Linked DNA regions of Homo sapiens: all the other regions are linked to region 2. The links are contacts of gene promoters, found by promoter capture Hi-C in blood cells and fetal thymus (Javierre and others, 2016). All regions are on one chromosome and are shown on one strand. Each heading gives the region's core, a stretch centred on a gene start or on the middle of the fragment in contact. The rest is flanking DNA. Distances are from core to core; before and after follow the strand shown. Region 1 overlaps THSD7A (thrombospondin type 1 domain containing 7A). Region 2 holds the start of THSD7A (thrombospondin type 1 domain containing 7A). Region 3 overlaps THSD7A (thrombospondin type 1 domain containing 7A).

Evidence for each region. The method cuts DNA at HindIII sites, captures the fragments that hold promoters and counts their contacts. A CHiCAGO score of 5 or more calls a contact.
Region 1: a fragment that was not itself captured here is called in contact with the fragment with the promoter of THSD7A in region 2 in 1 of 17 cell types (endothelial precursors); the score reaches 5.3 in endothelial precursors.
Region 3: a fragment that was not itself captured here is called in contact with the fragment with the promoter of THSD7A in region 2 in 1 of 17 cell types (endothelial precursors); the score reaches 6.1 in endothelial precursors.

What each region holds. Positions count from the first base shown.
Region 1 is chr7:11,591,850-11,594,549 of GRCh38, reverse strand. It overlaps THSD7A (thrombospondin type 1 domain containing 7A), which reads left to right. Exons shown (of 28, transcript NM_015204.3): 3 at 1,048-1,296. Among named protein-coding and RNA genes, the nearest start is that of THSD7A, 240 kb to the left of the region's middle. The HindIII fragment of the contact is 504 bases long and covers 1,069-1,572 here.
Region 2 is chr7:11,830,861-11,833,560 of GRCh38, reverse strand. It overlaps THSD7A (thrombospondin type 1 domain containing 7A), which reads left to right and starts at 1,363. Exons shown (of 28, transcript NM_015204.3): 1 at 1,363-1,804. The coding sequence starts at 1,615. RefSeq lists enhancers at 686-1,225, 1,226-1,766. The HindIII fragment of the contact is 6,451 bases long and covers 1-2,700 here.
Region 3 is chr7:11,616,882-11,619,581 of GRCh38, reverse strand. All of the region lies in intron 2 of THSD7A (thrombospondin type 1 domain containing 7A), which reads left to right. Among named protein-coding and RNA genes, the nearest start is that of THSD7A, 210 kb to the left of the region's middle. The HindIII fragment of the contact is 2,005 bases long and covers 386-2,390 here.

The DNA of each region.
Region 1 (2,700 bases), core at 71-2,570, 240 kb after region 2:
TGAATCAGGAGCGTCAAATGCATTTATTTTGCATAACTCCCTAAACAGTTCACACCAAGGACTATGAGTGTTCTCCATACTATTAGAAGTAGAGTCCTTAGCATTTTGGGGTCTAATATTAAGCAGCCAACTCCAGAAATCCCAAAACCAATGAAAGAATTCCATCCTTAATATTCTGCTCCTGTAGAACCACTCCTGGTACCAAAATCTGTCTTAGTCAGGGTTCTCTAGAGGGACAGAACTGATAGGATAGATATATGTATAAAGTGTAGTTATTAAGTATTATCTCACATGATCACAAGGTCCCACAATAGGCCATCTGCAAGCTGAGGAGCAAGGAGAGCCAGTATGAGTTCCACAACTGAAGAACTTGGAGTCTGATGTTCGAGGGCAGGAAGCATCTAGCACGGGAGAAAGATGTAGGTTGAGAGGTTAGGCCAGTCTACTCTTTTCATGTTTTTCTGATTGCTTTATATTCTAGCCGCATTGGCAGCTGATTAGATGGTGTCCACTCAGATTAAGGGTGGGTCTGCCTTTCCCAGCCAGTGACTCAAATGTTAATCTCCTTTGGCAACACCCTCACAGACATGCCCAGGACCAATACTTTGCATGCTTCAATCCAATCAATTTGACACTCAGTATTAACCATCACACTTACGCAGGCATATTTACTTGATTCCCTAAACAGAATGGAAATTAGCATATGTTAACAGTTCTTGGTTTCTCATTTTCTAAGTTAAAACAAGTCTGGAATGAGTAAAATGAACAGTATGGTAAACTTAGCTTTAGCTAATTTTACTTAATTCTCTTTATTTTCTATTTCCTATGAATGGTTTAACAACTCTTAGAAAACAGAAGAATATGCAAATGTTAGCTTTGAGTCTAACTGCTTTTCCACATCATAAATGTTGATGTATTTTCGATGAAACTGGAATCACACCTCCAAGTAGAAATAAAAATGCCCAAGCTGATTCACTCTTGAGCGTAGAAGACAAAGTTCATAACTGCCTGTGAGTCTGTAATGAGAATATCAATGCTCTTTTACAGCTTTTGCCAGCAAGAGAAGCTTCCAATGACCTTCCAGTCCTGTGTGATCACCAAAGAGTGCCAGGTTTCCGAGTGGTCAGAGTGGAGCCCCTGCTCAAAAACATGCCATGACATGGTGTCCCCTGCAGGCACTCGTGTAAGGACACGAACCATCAGGCAGTTTCCCATTGGCAGTGAAAAGGAGTGTCCAGAATTTGAAGAAAAAGAACCCTGTTTGTCTCAAGGAGATGGAGTTGTCCCCTGTGCCACGTGAGTAAATAAAGAAGGGTATAGCGTCTGCCGAAACTACATTTGCTCAGCTATTTGATTTTGACTGAACAGTACTCTAAGCAACAGTAATTTTTACACATAAAAAATATCTTTACAAACAGTATCCTTAAAAAAAACTTTTTTTACAGAATAAAAGTGTCCTGACAAACTAAATCTCCATGAAATTTTTAGCACCAATTCTATGTTTATGTATTTTCTATAATAGGAGTTGCCAAAATTTTTCTGTAAAGGGGTAGATAGTTAAAACATTAAGCTTTGCAGGCCATACGTGTCTCTATTGCAATGACTCAACACTGCTGTTGGAGCTAGAGGTAATATGTAAACAACTGAGCGTGGCTGTGTTCCAATACAATTTTATTTATATAAAAAAAAAGGTGGCAGGTTGATATGATCTTGGGCCACAGTTTGTCAACCTCCATTCCACAAGGTAAAATAAACTTTCCAAATATAGATTATCGTTAACTATTAAAATTCAGTACTTTGTATAACAAATCCTATTCACTAGAGTAAAATACTACATCAAAATAATGATACTTTAAGTTCCATGAGGACAAAGATTGTGCTTACTAATATGGGGAAAAGGGTTGGGTTTTTTGCTTGTTTGCTTTTTGTTTAATTGCTAGCATATATCACAATACCTGGTACAAAATATGTGTTCAATAAATATTCATTGAATTCAGATTAAATAAGACTCATTCTGAAACATTTGGCAGTATGACAGTATTAAAATATAATTTCCAAGTTATCATTGTGAATTATTTTGGTAATAGCAATATTTCAGCTTAATCTGTATATAGGATATTTATAAAGCAACTTATATTAGTTTTTCAATAGAGATGTGTGAACTTCATTGAGAGCATCTCTGGATTATTCCAAACATTTAAAGAACATGCATATAGCTAGATCTTTATGAACCAGTGGGGAGGCAAATTACTACTACTACTATTCCTATAACAACAACAAAAAAAATAGTAATGTTTTATACCAGATATATAATTCTGCAGCACTTTGGACTCATCCATTGTGTTCTAATGTGAAAAGTGACTGAAACCTCCACAGAGAATTTCCTCCCCAATGTCTCTGCCTATCCCACTGATTGTTCTGGTTCCTCCCCACATAATAGGCTCAAGGAAGTTGCCAGGATTTCCTGTATTTTCTCTCCTATGAGTTTCCTCTATTTTTGTTGCAAGCTAAGTGCTTTATTCTTTTTCTTCTCAGATATTCAAACACAATTAACAAAATAAACATATATCCTTGAGTATCTTTCTCCATGCCCTTTTTGGGGGGAAGCATTTTTCATAGAATGTGTAACCAATCTAAATTATTGACAGGCTATTCCTCTCATTGGACTTTTTGGCGTGACCTAAATCAGAACTTCAATTT
Region 2 (2,700 bases), core at 114-2,613:
TAATCTAATGCATGCAGAGGGGCTGTGTCTGGAAGGCTTTGCAAAATGACAAGGGTCCCAAGGGAGCCTTATGGAAGGTTTCCTCTTTCAGAAAGAGTAGCTTCCTCATCTTAAACTCTAGGGTAGCTATGTTGGAGTAAATTCATAAAAAGTAGTTTTCCTGCTTTTAAAATTTTATTTTATTTGGCTGAAAATTGCTGATGGGATAGTAGTTTTCTTTGGCTTTCCGTTTGCTGAATTTTTAATGGTTAAATGCCTACTATTTTAGCTTTACTGTGAAATGAATTAATAATAAAATATATTATTATTAGCTAAAGGGAGAAGGAGAAAGGGGAAAGCATTATCCGACTTCACACACATTCTTCTATTACTACTGGTAGAAGAAAGTGAAAACACAAAGGACAAAAGATGCAAACACATGTGGTTCCTTATTTAGATTGCGACAGGCATTTTGCTACAGTAAGAGTTAAGAAAAATCGGTGTCAGGGAAATTTTAAATGAAGAATTTACTAATTCCAAGATATCCAGACAGCATTACTGACTCAGTTTGACTCACAACTATCTGAATACTTAGAAGTAGCATATTTTTGAGGGAAAGAAGTAGATGAAGGGACAGAACTCTATACCTGAAATATAATTTTAATTTTAAGGGTTTTTTTTTTGTACAATTGTATTTATGTAATTAGGTAGCATTGCAAATACTCATTAACACTAATTCAGTTTTAAAGGCTATTAAAAGACAATTTAATTTGTCACAGAGCATCAATATTGCTCATATTTTTATTGATAATAGATTAAGTTAAAAACAACATTTAAAGAAGGGTTTAAGTGCATTTTGACAAGTCAACATTTCTGCTCTCGTGTTTTCACACCTGATCTCAAATACTGCTCCCCACACAAAGTAATTCAGAAGCCATGGCTTAAAAATAGATAATAAACACTGATGCTTTGTGTAAATACGTACTAAGAATAGCATGCCACTAGATCTAGCATTTGACTCCTTGGATGACAGTGAATATCAATGCCTGTTATTTGTCATTCTGAAATCTGCCGGGTGATGATTCTTTTTATTGGTGCATCCTTCCAAACATATTTCATCGCACCATGTGCACCGGAGTTCTTTAGGCGGGTATGTCGGAGGTGGGTGTCGCCTGGCTGGCCCCTCTCCCCTTTGCTCGCCCCCTTTCTCGCCCTCGCGCTCTCGCCTCCCTCTGCCTCCAGCCCCCTCTGCTCCTTTGGGCTCACGCCCCCCTCCTCCCCCTCCAGCTGGCGGGGGCTGCGCTGCCTCCCAGACCTAGCAGACCTGCTCAGTCAGCTGGGGCCCCCTGAGGACAGTTGCCTCCGGAGCCGCCGGGACCTGCCATTCTGCGAGGAATGGCAGCGGCAGCAGCATCCCCGCCAGAGGCGGCGGCGGCGGCGGCAGCGGCCACGGCCACCACCGCGGACGCTATTGTTCCCTGGTGTTAGACGCGCTCTCCCTCCTTCTCATCTGAAGCGAACAATAGCAGGAAAGAGCTTTGCTTTCTGTACTCTTTGAAAAGACGTTCCAAGAGCGGAGAAAAATTCCCTGCCGAGCGTGCTACGGCTCTGGACCCTGGAGTGGCTGCAGGCGGCATGGGGCTGCAAGCCAGGCGCTGGGCGTCCGGGAGCCGGGGCGCTGCGGGGCCGCGCCGGGGCGTCCTGCAGCTGCTGCCGCTGCCGCTGCCGCTGCCGCTGCTCCTGCTGCTGCTGCTACGCCCGGGCGCCGGCAGGGCTGCGGCGCAGGGCGAGGCGGAGGCGCCCACCCTCTATCTGTGGAAGACTGGTAAGTGGGACGGAGTTACCCTTTCCCCATCTTCACATCTGGGGCCACATTAAGGAGCTGGTGGGCTTCTGTAGGGACCCCGGTGCTTTTGGATGGCTTGGTTATGCTGGTATCCTAAGGTAAAAAGTATGATTTCTTAGGAAGCAAATAGGTCATGTCCGATGCAATTAGGAAAGAAAAGCATAACAACTAAGAGGCAACAGTGAGTAGCTGGAATATTTCTCTCGCAGCTCTGTAATGAGGGCAACGCGCACTTCCATGATGAAGTGCATTATTTTTAACCCCTGGATTTTCATTCTACTAGGAGTTTCTCAAACAGATTTCTAGCAAAGAACAAGCAAAGAGTTTAGTCTCAGTCTTTATTCTTTAGGCAAAGCAATATGCTCACTGTCATGACATTTGTGGATATAGAGTTGAATTTGTTAACTTTAGCTTTGTGATATGTGGGACACCTCAGAAACAAGCCAAGTGAGGGCGGTTCCAACAATTAAAGGCAAATGGGGCTCCAGTGAGCCTTCAGGGAAAGACTGAAAACTCAATTATTAACTAGCGAGTCGGAGGATTTTTAAAGTGTACAACTTTTAGGATGTCTGGGTTCAAACTTTCTCTTCCTTCCTTGAGAATTGTTTTGCTTTGTTTTTCAACCACCCAACAAAAGCAGCTACTAACTGCCCATCATTACCCATTGGCAAAATGCTTGGAGTTTCTGGCGGGGGCCGTGACAGGCAGGAAAACAATACGGAGTGAGGAATTACCAACCCCTTTTCTGCGGGTTCGCTTTCTCTCTGCATTAAAAAAACATTGAGAATTCCTTAGGGGACCTGAAACTTCACATGTTCATAGGAATAAAATGGGAAAAGATTATTCCTGTTGCTTAGAGCTAGGGGGTAATTTAA
Region 3 (2,700 bases), core at 139-2,638, 210 kb after region 2:
AAAAAATTAGTTGGGCATAGGAGCACATGCCTGTAGTCCTAGCTACTCCAGAGGCTTTGGCAGGAGGATTTCTTGAGCCTGGGGTTTGGAGGCTGCAGTGAACTATGATTCCACCGCAGGAGTCCAGCCTGGGGAACAGAGCAGGATGCAGTCTCTTAAAGCAAAAAAAAAAAAAAAAAGTACAGTAAGAAAAGAAATTACTGTTTATTCATGTGGCTATTTTAATGTAAAAGTTTAGATAAAATACATAAATCATATCAAGATTTATCTTGGAAACCTAGTTGTTCATGCTTAGATAAAGACAAAGATCATAGTTAAATCACATCTGGGCATTTCTTGTAGTCATTGATATACAAAATCACATTAACATTTATATCTGAAAGCTTTGAAAATCCAGTGTATTTTAGTAACAAATGTAACCAGTTTCTTTATATTTCTTATTTGCTGATAATTCTTTATCTTTGTGTCCTCTAGGTTAGATATAAATATTGCCTAATATAATGATGTTTAAAAAAGTTTTTAAACATTGCGTACTCTTTATACACAATGGAAATAGACTTTTTTAATTATTTAAATTTTATGTATTACTATCTTTATTATCTTTGGATTGAGAACGATTCATTAAAATATAAAGAAAAAATAAAAGCCACCTAAAATCTTACCACTCTGAACCCTATTAACATTTAGGTGATTATGCATTACATTATATATCTAAATTCATATGTGTGCATAAATTGGATTGTATATTAATACTAAATTTATTCTTCTCCTTCTTTTTTTTTTTTCTTTTTGAGTCAGAGTCTCGCTCTGTCTCCCAGGCTCCTGTGCAGTGTTGGCGCGATCTCTGCTCACTGCAAGCTCCGCCTCCCGGGTTCACGCCATTCTGCTGCCTCAGCGTCCCAAGTAGCTGGGACTACAGGCGCCCGGCTAATTTTTTTGTATTTTTAGTAGAGACGGGGTTTCACCTGTGTTAGCCAGTGTCTTGGTCTCCTGACCTCGTGATCCGCCCGCCTCGGCCTCCCAAGATGCTGGGATTGCAGTCATGAGCCACCGCGCCCCGCCCTATTCTTCTCCTTCTTACATCATATTAAAACATCAAGCACATCCTCATTCCCCAATGGAGTGTAAGTTATGTTAATAAGGTGTATTCATATCAACCTACACATACTGATTTTACACATACACACAATTTATCTTGCTCATTTTTAGAAAATGATTTCTATTATATAAAATATACATCTTACGTGTATATACAATATGTGTGTATACAATATGCATGTGTATACAATATACATCTGCATCTTATTTTTGACTAAATAAAACCCTGTAGAAACCCCTCCAAGTTATACAGAATAGCTCTAATCCATTCTTCTTAAATTCTTTATTGTTGGACATTAATTTTATTTCTGTTTTATGATTACCATGATCAAGCCCACAATAAATAGCCACATATAAGTGTCCATATGAATTGGCATTTTAATTTCTGTAGGACATATTCCTAGGTGTGGGAATTACTGGGTCAAATTTATTTTTAAAAGATATTTCTAGATGCTTTCACAAAAGGTGGTAACACTTGACATTTTCTTTTTTTTATTGTTATACTTTAAGTTCTAGGGTACATGTGCAAAACGTGCAGGTTTGTTACATATGTATACATGTGCCATGTTGGTGTGCTGCACCCATTAACTTGTCATTTACATTAGGTATATATCCTAGTGCTATCCCTCCCTCCTCTCCCTACCCCACGACAGGCCCCAGTGTGTGTTGTTCCCCTTCCTGTGTCCAAGTGTTCTCATTGTTCAATTCCCGCCTATAGTCCTTGTGATAGATTGCTCAGAATGATGGTTTCCAGCTTCATCCATGTCCCTACAAAGACATTAACATCTAATATTAACATCTAATAAAAGGTAAATCTAACGTAACAACAAAGGAATAGATGATTGTTGATAACCTGTGTAAGTAGAATGCTAGAGTGTGAAGTATTAGTGTTATTTGCCAACAATAAAATATTAGAAATATATTTATCTATCCTAGGTCTCCGTTAGCATTCATGTAATATAGTTAAAATTTCTGTACTTCCAATAAGAATTTGTAGGTAATTTACAACAATAAAGCTGAATGAATGAAAGAGTGAATGAATGAATCATACATACATACATACAAATATACGTGCAATTAGTAAGATGAGAGGAAGGAAGATATATGAAGTTTTAGGAGCACTTTTGCAAGAGGGCTATAGTAATTGAAAACAAAAGTTAGATTGATATACCTGAGCAGCAAATAGAAAATATGAAAGATGATTTGTCTTTAAAATGTGTATGCATGTGTGTATGTTATGCATGTATTGTACTTTTCCTGTCAGTTTCTGATGAATGTTGAGAACATAAGCTTATATAATAGTTCCGGTAAAACAATTCAAGAGGGGCCAAAGTACTATGGACCAACCAAATAAAATGTTACTTTTGGTTTGAGGAAGTCTTAGTTCCTAGACTATTATGCTCAGATATATTTGTGTATACAACTTACAGCTATTTTGCAATGCACAAATATAGCATCACTGTGATATGTTTTTAAATATTGCTTATACTCTTTATTCACAAGTTTTCTTCTGTTTATCCTTGAATAATAAGATGATAATTACATTTTTAAAATAAAAACATTTAAATGAATGATTCTGTACACAATAAAATCAAAAACTTG